Linked DNA regions of Homo sapiens: all the other regions are linked to region 2. The links are contacts of gene promoters, found by promoter capture Hi-C in blood cells and fetal thymus (Javierre and others, 2016). All regions are on one chromosome and are shown on one strand. Each heading gives the region's core, a stretch centred on a gene start or on the middle of the fragment in contact. The rest is flanking DNA. Distances are from core to core; before and after follow the strand shown. Region 1 overlaps RAB5C (RAB5C, member RAS oncogene family). Region 2 holds the start of CAVIN1 (caveolae associated protein 1). Region 3 holds the start of DHX58 (DExH-box helicase 58).

Region 1 (3,260 bases), core at 588-3,087, 290 kb before region 2:
ACTGTGTTGGTGATGTCATAGACCACGATGGCAGCCTGGGCCCCCCGATAGTACATGGGGGCCAGGCTGTGATACCGCTCCTGTCCAGCTGTGTCCCAGATCTCAAACTTGACTGTTGTGTCATCCAGGCAGACAGTCTGTGTGAGGAAGGCCGCTGTAAGAGAGAAGGAGCGTCCATGGGCAAGAGCGAGTTGGAATCCACCCCACACAATCCCACTGTTGCTTCTAGGCTCTGGCACTCAGAAGCCCACCACTGAGATGGGCACAGAGAACCCTCAAGCCAGGAGCCAAAGCAGGCCTGAGTGGGGGGTGGAGTTTGGATTTTTATGTATGTGTCTGGGGGACGGGGTCTGCACAGGCTTTGCAGACCCAGCCCAGGCAACGGCAGGAGAAGGGACTCCTGCATGCACTGAGCCATCTCAGGACCACTCTCTGAAGAGCAACACAGCAGGGGCAAGAGAGGGAAAGCCTAGGGGAAGCCTACTCCAAGCACAGAAGGGTGAGCGCCCTCAGACCTCCTCCTCCGCCACTCAGAGAACAGACCAGCAGCTAGGGACCGCTCCACCCCTCAGTTTGCTCCAGCCCAGGGGTGTCACTGACCTTGGGTTTCCTAAGGACATTCTCACACACTTAGCTATGCTGGGGAAGTACACACTGTTCCACCACCAGGCTGAGGCTGGGTGGCCGGCTTCCCAACCACCCCTACCACCTCCAGGCACTCCAGCTAGCCACCGCCCCTAGCTCTGACCCAGACCTGTTCCTGTATGGCCACCCTGTGACCTGACCTTCAGTCACTAAGAGGTGACTCCTTAGGGGAATGCAGGGTGCCTGTACACATGCTTCAAAGGAGGAGTCCAGAGCTGGGACAGACAGCAAAAGGCCCCTTTGCCCCTGGACCCAGCAGAGAACCCAGGACAGCCATGTGTAGAAGGCTGCTTTCCTGGTCTGCCCTCCCCCAGCTCACTGAGGGACATGGGGCACTGCCTCACTTCCCCTCTCCAGCTCCTGACCCAAATGCTGAGGAGGCAGCAGGGAGACTGCTGACATGGCCCATTTTGTTTCCAGCTGCCTAGAAACCTCCTACCAAGAGAGTAGAGAAAGGATGACTCAAGGCCAAGGCCAGCGTTGGCCCCTGCCTCTTGATGTGTGTGTTAGCCACGGAGGCAAGAGGCCGAGGCCAGACCCTCACTCACATCCTAAATGCTGACCACTGGAAAATCAACAACAGGCTGTGAGCTCCAGAAAGGGTAAAGTCAGCTTCAGAAACACCCACCTATCACCCAGCTCCGACTCACCAGGCTGTTCCTTCTTCTGGAAGTGGGAAAGGCCAGGGCACATGGACCACCCATTATAGTAAGAAGGGGCCTCAAAGATCCAGAGTCAGCTCTCCCTCCATGAGGCCAGGGCAGTGAAAGGGCCTCAGCCAAGGCCACACAGATCAAGAAGGGGCAGAAACAGGATGGGAAGCTAGCTTTCCACTCCCAGCAAATGCTTACTAGCGATGCTTGAGGGGACTCTGGCATGGAGACCAGTTGCTGGGCTCAATTCCAGGGCCCAGGTGAGGAAGTGGGGCTGCCACCACAGACGCATTTAGTCCCTAATGCAGGCAGGCAGCTTCCCATCTCCTCAAGGTCAAAGCATTTCTTTGGCAACCTTCAGGCCCCTCCCCGACTCCCTCATGCCCACTCACCTCCAATTGTGCTCTCCTGGTACTCGTGAAACTGTCCCTTGACAAAGCGGAGGACGAGGCTGGATTTGCCTACCGCAGACTCCCCCAGCAGAACCAGCTTAAATTGACAGATCTTGTTCCCAGCAGCTGGTCCATTGGGTCGTGCTGCGCCTCCCCGACCCGCCATTGCCCGTCCAGCTGTAGTGGTCCAGAGAGCGTGCGGGTGGGGACTGGTGCTATGCAAAGAGGCACTTAGTGGGGAGGGGGACCTCCAACTGTAAGGGAGAAATGAGAAGTACTGAGTTAGTTCAGAGGCCGTCACCCGCTGTGTCCTTCTTAAATTACAGATCTTTCCCTCTGGCCTCACTGAAGACCTAGCTGACTGCTTCCCCTCACCTCACCTCCCTGCCCTCCCCACTAGAGGTCAGGAGGCCCCACTGGGCTATACTAGATGTCTACCGGCTCTACCACCATCTGAGCTGTAAAGAGGAGAATGGTCTCCCAACTTCAGGCTCATGGTTCTGAGCAAACACATTGACTTCTGGATCCCAAATATGTACATTCACCTACAAATAAACACACACAGGCGATGAATGAATGTGTGACAGCCTGGTGACAGTTAAGTCAACAGGCTTTTGGGGCAAAATTAAAACAAAACAAAACAAAACAAAAGCTCAGGAAGACACTAGGATTTAGATCAATAATGAAGTTCCAGTCTGGTAGCCAGGACCACAGTGGTGAGGCAGACAGGGGCCCAAGAGGTCCTGGTAGAAAGCTCCTCAGAGAAGGTGCTTGGCCAACCTCATGGCCATTCAGGGACCAGGGCCTGGCCAGCACAAGTTGTTATTAACATAGCCATTTTTCTCCTGCCACCTTCAGAAGGACTGACCGACTTTCAGTCTAGGGCTGGACTGTGTGCCTCTGTGCACCAGAATCAAAGCAATGTTTCACTCTCTCATCCTGATCCTTCTTCCCTAGTTCTCTCATTTTTGATGGGCCAAAGTCTCGCACCCATTAAAAAACAAAACACACACAGAAACAAACACATAGTAAAACACACACCGATACACACACACAAACACACACAGAAACACACACACCGGAACAAATACACACTGAAACACACACACACACACACAAAAACACATGCCAACACACACACAGAAATACACACCAAAACAGACACCAAAACAAAACACACACCGAAACAAACACACACAGAAACACACACCAAAGTCATAGCTCTGCCACAGTCAGCACAGCTACCAACTTTCCCTTTTTCAATAGAGACCTCAGTTCCATTCTCTACTGGCAGAGATGGGGCGATGGAGAGAAAGAAGAGGCAGGAGGTGTGGGAGGGCAGAGACCAAGTCCTGCATCCCCAACAGCTGGTGTTCCAGTCCCGACATCTGAATCACTTGGTTAGTGACAGCTTCAGAGGCTCAACTTTTTGTTTTTGTTAAGTTTTGGAATTGCAGACACATGAGGAGCCTATCTCTAGAAGCCTCTAGAAGACATAAGTGGATGTCTCATCAGACATATACATCTGATGTCAACAGACATCAGAATATATACAGAATGTTTTACAAAC
Region 2 (3,024 bases), core at 250-2,749:
TCCCGCCGGCTGCGCTGCTGCGCCTGGCCCCCGCCCCCGCAGGCATGCGGGGTGATTCACCTCGCCCAGACTGCGCCCAGACCGCCGGACCCCGCAGGGGCTGTCCACCCACTCCACCAGCCCCTCTTGCACTCCTGACGCCCACTCTTCCCCGCCCAGCCCCGCCCGCTTCCAGGAGGCCCAGGGTGCCAGCGCGCCGCGGGTGAGGGTGTCCTCAAGGGCCTGAAAATGCCTGGTGGCCAGGAGCAGAGAGCAGCGAGGGGACAGGGGTGGGCCGCCGAGGCCGATGTGGGGGCGCGGGGGCGCAGGGTCTGGGGAGGAGGTTGGCGGTCGCGTTCCCCGCTTGGCACAGCCCCCGCTGGTGCGTGCCTGAGCCCTGAATCACCCGCTATATCAGGCCCGCAGGCGCAGAGGCCCCAGGCCCGGGCCCCGCAGCCAGTGTCCGCTTACAGCGGACCCCAACGATCGCGAGGGACCCCTGACTTTCCTAGAAACTTCCCCCAAGTAGGAAGAAGTTTGACAGAGCCAATTAGGGAGGGAGCGGTCTGCGAGGGGCAGCGTCCTCGAGTCCACCCGCTAATTCGGTTCTGCTACAAGTTTGGGACCCGAGGGAAGGATCTGAGTGGGGAGGTGCGAGGTGCAGAGCGCGCCCCTCTACGCGCCCCAGGAGTCCGCCGCTCCCTCCACCCCATCCTACCCCACCCAACCCCACCCCAGCCGCGCTCACCGGAAGGAGGGTGGATCTGCCGGGCGCCCGGGCCAGGCTGGGAGGGGAGCAGCGCCACGGGCAGGTCTCCCCACCCCAACTCCCAGGCAGGGGACGCGGGCCGGGCGCGGGAGCTCTGGGCGCCTTCCGCCCTGTGGGCTCACCTGGTAGATCATGACTTTAAAGTTGCGGCGCCGCAGCAGCTCGGCCTCGTTGACCTCCAGCTTCTTGATCTGCCCCGCCTGGCGCTCCAGGCTGCCGCGCACGGTCTTCACGTTGACGCTGACCTTGCGCACCTTCTCCAGCAGCTTGCTCACCGTATTGCTCGTGGTGGCGTGCGCCTTGCCCAGCTTGCTCAGCTCGCCCTGGATGCTCTGCACTGCGCCCTCCATCTCCGCCTGCCGCTCCTCCAGCTGTGCTTGAGTCAGCTGGATCTGGTCTACGGCCCCGATGATTTTGTCCAGGAGGCTCAGCACCAGCACGCCGTTCACCTGGTCCGACTTGATCAGCTCTTCTGAGCCGGCCCCCGACGGCTCCTCCGCTGCCTGAGCCCCAGCGGAGGAAGGCTCCGGGGCCTCGGCGTCGGGGTACCCGGGAAGCGGCCGCTCGACAATATAGAGCGTGGGGTCCTCCATGGCTACCCGGAGCCGTGCGGGACCGGCCGGGTGGGGCTGGAGCTGGAGCGGGAGACCCGGAGAGAAGCAGGAGCGGAAGGGAGGAGAGCTAGCGGGCGAGAGCGGAGAGCAGAGGAAACTCGAGCCACGTCCGTGCGCACCGGGACAGCGGCCAGAACTGCTGGGCGGGGGATCGGTGAGCTCCCCAGCTCCCGGGCCAAACTCCGGAGTCTGATCGCTGATTGGCTGGCCCCACCCCAGAAAGGGAGGGACCGGGGCAGAAGGGGAGATCGACGAGGCGGGGCGGCGGAGGGGGACCCAAGAGCCGAGCGCCCCACCCTTCCCGGGATGGTTGGAATAGTTGGAGCGGGAGACTAGGGCCTCCGCTGGCGGCGGGAGCGGGACGGGCGGAGGAATGCGAGCTGAGGAACGGAATCAGGTTCTAAGAGTGTTGCTCTCTGTTTCCCTCTCACTTGAATTGCTCATCCGAAAATCCTCAAGATCTGGGAGCCGGGTGGACCAGGAGATTCTGAAATTATAGGCAAAATCTTGTATTTGCCTTTACCTAGATTTTGAGCACAAAAGGACCCTTGCCCTTTACAATATTTTCTAAGAGGCCTCTCGGATTTCCTCATCACCAACCCCAACCAGGTTACTAACTCAGGGGTAAGCTTAGGGGGTTGTTTGTGGGGGGCGGGGGGAGAAAGAGAGAACGTATTTGGGGTCACGGTGGTGGTGAAGGGCTGCGAAGCTCCTCTAAGTTCTTTTTAGAATTGCCCTAACAGAGTAGAATTAAGATGGGCAATCAAACGGAAAATAAAGCCCACCTCCCAACCCCCCTTTCTGAGACAGGGTGTCACTCTGTCACCCAGGCTGGAGTGCAGCGGTCTGATCACAGTTCACTGCAGCCTCGACCTCTTGGGCTCAGGCAATCCTCCCACTTCAGCCTCCTGAGTAGATGAGACTATAGGCGCTTGCCACCACGCCCAGCTAATTTCAATTTTTATTTTTTTCAATTTTTATTTTTTTAAGAGACGGGGTGTACACTATTTTGACCAGGCTGGTCTCGAACTCCTGAGCTCAAGTGATCTGCTGGTTTCAGCCTCTCAAAGTGCTGGGAGCCACCGCGCCTGGTGTAAAGCCCTTTTTAAAAGCCCACCTCTCTTAGGCCAGGCGCGGTGGCTCATGCCTGTAATCCCAGCACTTTGGGAGGCCCAGGCGGGTGGATCACGAGGTCAGGAGTTCAAGACCAGCCTGGCCCAAGATGGTGAAACCCCGTCTCTGTTACAAATACAAAAATTAGGCCAGGCGCAGTGGCTCATTTTGGGAGGCGGAGGTGGGTGGATCACCTGAGGTCGGGAGTTCGACCTCAGCCTGACCAACATGGAGAAACCCCATCTCTACTAAAAATACAAAATTAGCCAGGCGTGGTGGCGCATGCCTGTAATCCCAGCTATTCGGGAGGCTGAGGCAGGAGAATCACTTGAACCCGGGGGGCAGAGGTTGCAATGAGCTGAGATTCGCGCCATTGCACTCCAGCCTGAGTGGAATTCTACAGAGTAGAATTCCTCTTTTTTCCAAAAGCTTTTTCAATCCTTAGTAGAAGGAATTTAAATTACTTTAATACATTTCTCCTAAATTCTAAAGTAAGTTGGTAATCTGCCAGTTGGTAATCCACTGTCTGAGTGCAGACAGAGTGAGACT
Region 3 (3,311 bases), core at 577-3,076, 310 kb before region 2:
CTCATCCACCACGATCAGGGAGAAGACTGAGGGCACAGGGGGGAAGGCTGTGACCTATGTTTGCAAAGCCCTTCCTCCCATCAGCTTTCAAGTAGTCCCCACAATGATGTAAGAATTCCTTCTTCCCTTCACAACCTGCAGCTGGTCCCAGGATGAGGAGCCAGGCAGGGAAGACTTCTTTCCATTTCACAGATTAGTAAACCGAGGCTCAGCTGGGGAAGGGACTGGCCTAAGATCCTACACGATAGCCCGGCCTGTTTCTACTAGAGTGCCTGCAGGGGTTTTGTGAACAGGCAACCCCTCACTCCCACTAAAACTCCCAACACCTTGACTCCAGGAGGTGCCCTGGGGTTGGCGAAAGGAGGTACCCCAGATGCGTATCTTTTTCCTCCCGGCCATGGCCCTCACCAGTGAGCTCCACGTGCTCCTCCTCCTCGGGGCTGGTCAGTGCCATCTGCAGAAGCTCTGCTGTGCAGATGAGCAGGTCATGGCACCGGGCCAGGTGGCCAAAGCCAGCACGTGGTCCCATGTCCCCACTCAGGGTTGTCACGGTCCAGCGTCCATCCAGCATGCGCCTGAACTCTTCACCATGCTGGGTCACCAGGTGCACCTGGGGGTGGAGAATGAGCTGGGAAAAGAGAGCTGAATCTGGGGCCAGGGGTAGGGAGGCGGTAAGGTGACCCGCAGGACATGGCTGGGTACTGAGCCAGGGTGGAAAGACAGGTGAGCTTAGCGATGGCCACAGCAGCTTTGGAGTTCTGGTGGGGACTGGGAGATGCCTGAAGAGCTAAGACCCTGCTTGGTGGTGGGAGAGCGGGGTAGGGACAGACCACTCACCCTGTTGACCAATACAACCACCTTGGCTCCATCCACAGTCTCTAGGTGCCGCTTGGCCACATAAGCAGCCGCCCGGGTCTTCCCGGCACCCGTGGGCAGCCAGATGATGATATTCTTGCCCTCCAGGGCAGGCATGATCACCTCCCATTGGTAGGACCGAAGCTCCATTCTGGGAATGGCAGGGGACTCAGACCCACCGACTCCTCCACCCCTCCCAACTCCTGGCCAGACCAGTCAGTACAGAGACCTCCCTTTGCCCAGGACTCCACCCCACTTGAGGGAGGTGGGGCAGGACTCCCTCAGAACCCATCAGGACCCTGCTCTGCCCAAAAGGGGGAGGCGGGAGTAACACAGGCTACACCTGCCCCCTGCCCAGCCCAGGACTCACCTGCTCTAGTAGGTAGGTCTGCCCAGGGCAGTCCCACTTAACTCAGCCTGGTGCCACTCTGCTCAGCTCAGAGACCCAAGATGGAAACTGAAACTGAGGGAAGGAGCCAGCTGAGCCGACTTAGGAATCTCCCATCCCCGCCCCAGGAAAAAGAACCAAGAGAAAAGAACCGTTTGTGCTAACAGTCATCGCCAACTGCCGTGAGTACAAACTCCGGTTAAGTACTGCTGCTGCGCCAGCGCCCTGGCAGGCATGATCACCTCCCATTGGTAGGGCCACAGCTCCATTCTGGGAATGGCAGGGGACTCAGACCCACTGGGCCCTCCACTCATCCCAACTCCTGGCCAGAGCAGTCGGTACAGAGACCTCCCTTTGCCCAGGACTCCACCCCACTTGAGGGAGGTGGGGGGGGGGACACCCTCAAAACTCATCAGAAGCCTGCTGTGGCCAAAAGGTGGGGGTGGGGGGGGGTGGGAGTAACACAGGCTACACCTGCGCCTTGCCCAGCCTGGGTCTCGCCTGCACCACCACGTAGGCCTGCCCAAGGCGGCCCTGCTTAGCTCAGCCTGGTGCCGCTGTGCTCAGCGCAGAGAGCAGAAATCAGAAATGGAAACTGAAACTGAGGGGAGGAGCCAGCTGAGCCGACTTACGAATCTCCTATCCCTGCCCCAAGAAAAAGAACCACGTGTGCTAACAGGGAAGCACTCTTTCAGTGCTACAGGATCCTCTACGCTCTGGCCCTTCTGCAGTCAGTTGTAACCACATCCACCCAGGTTAAGGTGAAGGCAGGAGGTTCTGACCCCTGCTGCCCTGGCATCTGGATCAGGAGCAGCCTGGAGGAGGGAGAGGTGGGGGGCTGCAGGCAGGTAGGACCCATCACCCCAGGAGCACAGGACCAGGCCTGAGGCTTGCTGGGGAGAGCAGCCTCCAGTTTGCAAGAGGTCCCTGGGGGCCAAGGTGAGCCTGCTAAGGCTGGGACTACACCAAAGAAACAATCACACAGAGAAATAAAAAGCTTTATTATTCCCTCTAAGGGATTAATGCCAGGGAATGAATGGTCCCCATACCCCCCACCCCTGGGGGAGACTGACAGAACAGTGCTGGACAAGGCATGGCCCCCTTCAGTTTGGGCTGAACTTCCAACCCCTGAAGCCATCACTCAAGCTAAAATGAGCAGTTCTGGTCCTCAGGGAAACAGCCACCTGGGCCAGGCCCAGGAATCCAAGCCTCCAAAGCTCTTGGGGACCAGGCCTGGGGGCCACCACGGCTGGGCAAGGTTCATCCCTGGCCACCAGCTACTCTAGAGGGGCTGGGCCCCAACCCAGGAGACCTCTCACACACAGTGAAGGCTGGGACAGAGCTGCACGCTTGGGGGTGCCTGAAGGTCCAGAAAGAGCTGCAGGATCGGGTCCGGAGGACCCTTGGCTGGAGTGTCTCAAGCTGAGTCGGGTCCGTGGGGCCAGGGCACCCCCTAAGGATCAGATCAGAATCCGAGGTGGAGACATTCCAGGTCAGGGCTGCGGCCCAAAGATGGGCCTACTTGTCAATGAGGCCTCCCTCCTTGAGCTTGAAGTAGAAGAACTTCTCCAGGGCGCTGGCACAGCGGCAGTACTCGCTGTCCGGGGGGTTGTACTCGCGACAGTTGGCGATGACCCGCTGCAGGTCGGCCACAAAGAGCTTCCGGGTCACGTAGTAGCGGCTTCGCAGCCGCTCAGTCATGGTCTTCAGGTCTGGGGCAGCAGGAGACGGAGCACAGCTTTAAGAGGCTGAAGACCACGGCAGGGCTGTCCACCAGGGTGGGCCCCCTGGGGCTGCAGGGCGCAGTGAGGGCAGGAGCAGGTGTGGGGACAGAAGAGGAGGGAAGGGGATGGAATGGAAGGTCCTCACCAATGGGGAAGCGGATGACCTCGTAGTAGTCAGGGGCCTCCGACTTCTTCACAGGCTCCATGAAGGGCCAGGCACTGGGGTGAGACTGGAGAGAAGAGCCGGGCTGGGGACAGCCCTGCTGCGCCCACGCCAGCCCGAGACCACTACCCACCCCACACTGCATCAAGAGGCCACAGCCATTGGTGCAGGGGCCCTGGAA

Evidence for each region. Contacts are between HindIII fragments. The CHiCAGO score rates a contact against its expected background, and 5 or more counts as called.
Region 1: a contact is called between a fragment that was not itself captured here and the fragment with the promoter of CAVIN1 in region 2, in 1 of 17 cell types (activated CD4 T cells). The highest score is 5.1, in activated CD4 T cells.
Region 3: the fragment with the promoter of DHX58 here is called in contact with the fragment with the promoter of CAVIN1 in region 2 in 1 of 17 cell types (fetal thymus); the score reaches 6.0 in fetal thymus.

The regions. Positions count from the first base shown.
Region 1 is chr17:42,128,647-42,131,906 of GRCh38, forward strand. It overlaps RAB5C (RAB5C, member RAS oncogene family), which reads right to left. Exons shown (of 6, transcript NM_004583.4): 2 at 1,691-1,944; 3 at 3-154. The coding sequence starts at 1,856. Among named protein-coding and RNA genes, the nearest start is that of HSPB9, 7.5 kb to the left of the region's middle. The HindIII fragment of the contact is 4,670 bases long and covers 1-3,260 here.
Region 2 is chr17:42,421,757-42,424,780 of GRCh38, forward strand. It overlaps CAVIN1 (caveolae associated protein 1), which reads right to left and starts at 1,500. Exons shown (of 2, transcript NM_012232.6): 1 at 871-1,500. The coding sequence starts at 1,341. It overlaps LOC102725238 (a long non-coding RNA gene), which reads left to right and starts at 1,432. Exons shown (of 4, transcript XR_007065758.1): 1 at 1,432-1,516. The HindIII fragment of the contact is 2,664 bases long and covers 1-1,989 here.
Region 3 is chr17:42,110,888-42,114,198 of GRCh38, forward strand. DHX58 (DExH-box helicase 58) reads right to left here and starts at 1,827. Exons shown (of 14, transcript NM_024119.3): 1 at 1,718-1,827; 2 at 1,226-1,318; 3 at 838-1,006; 4 at 409-610; 5 at 1-26. The coding sequence starts at 1,005. KAT2A (lysine acetyltransferase 2A) reads right to left here. Exons shown (of 18, transcript NM_021078.3): 17 at 3,113-3,197; 18 at 2,224-2,955. The coding sequence ends at 2,762. RefSeq lists enhancers at 1,335-1,434, 1,675-2,194. The HindIII fragment of the contact is 8,851 bases long and covers 1-2,238 here.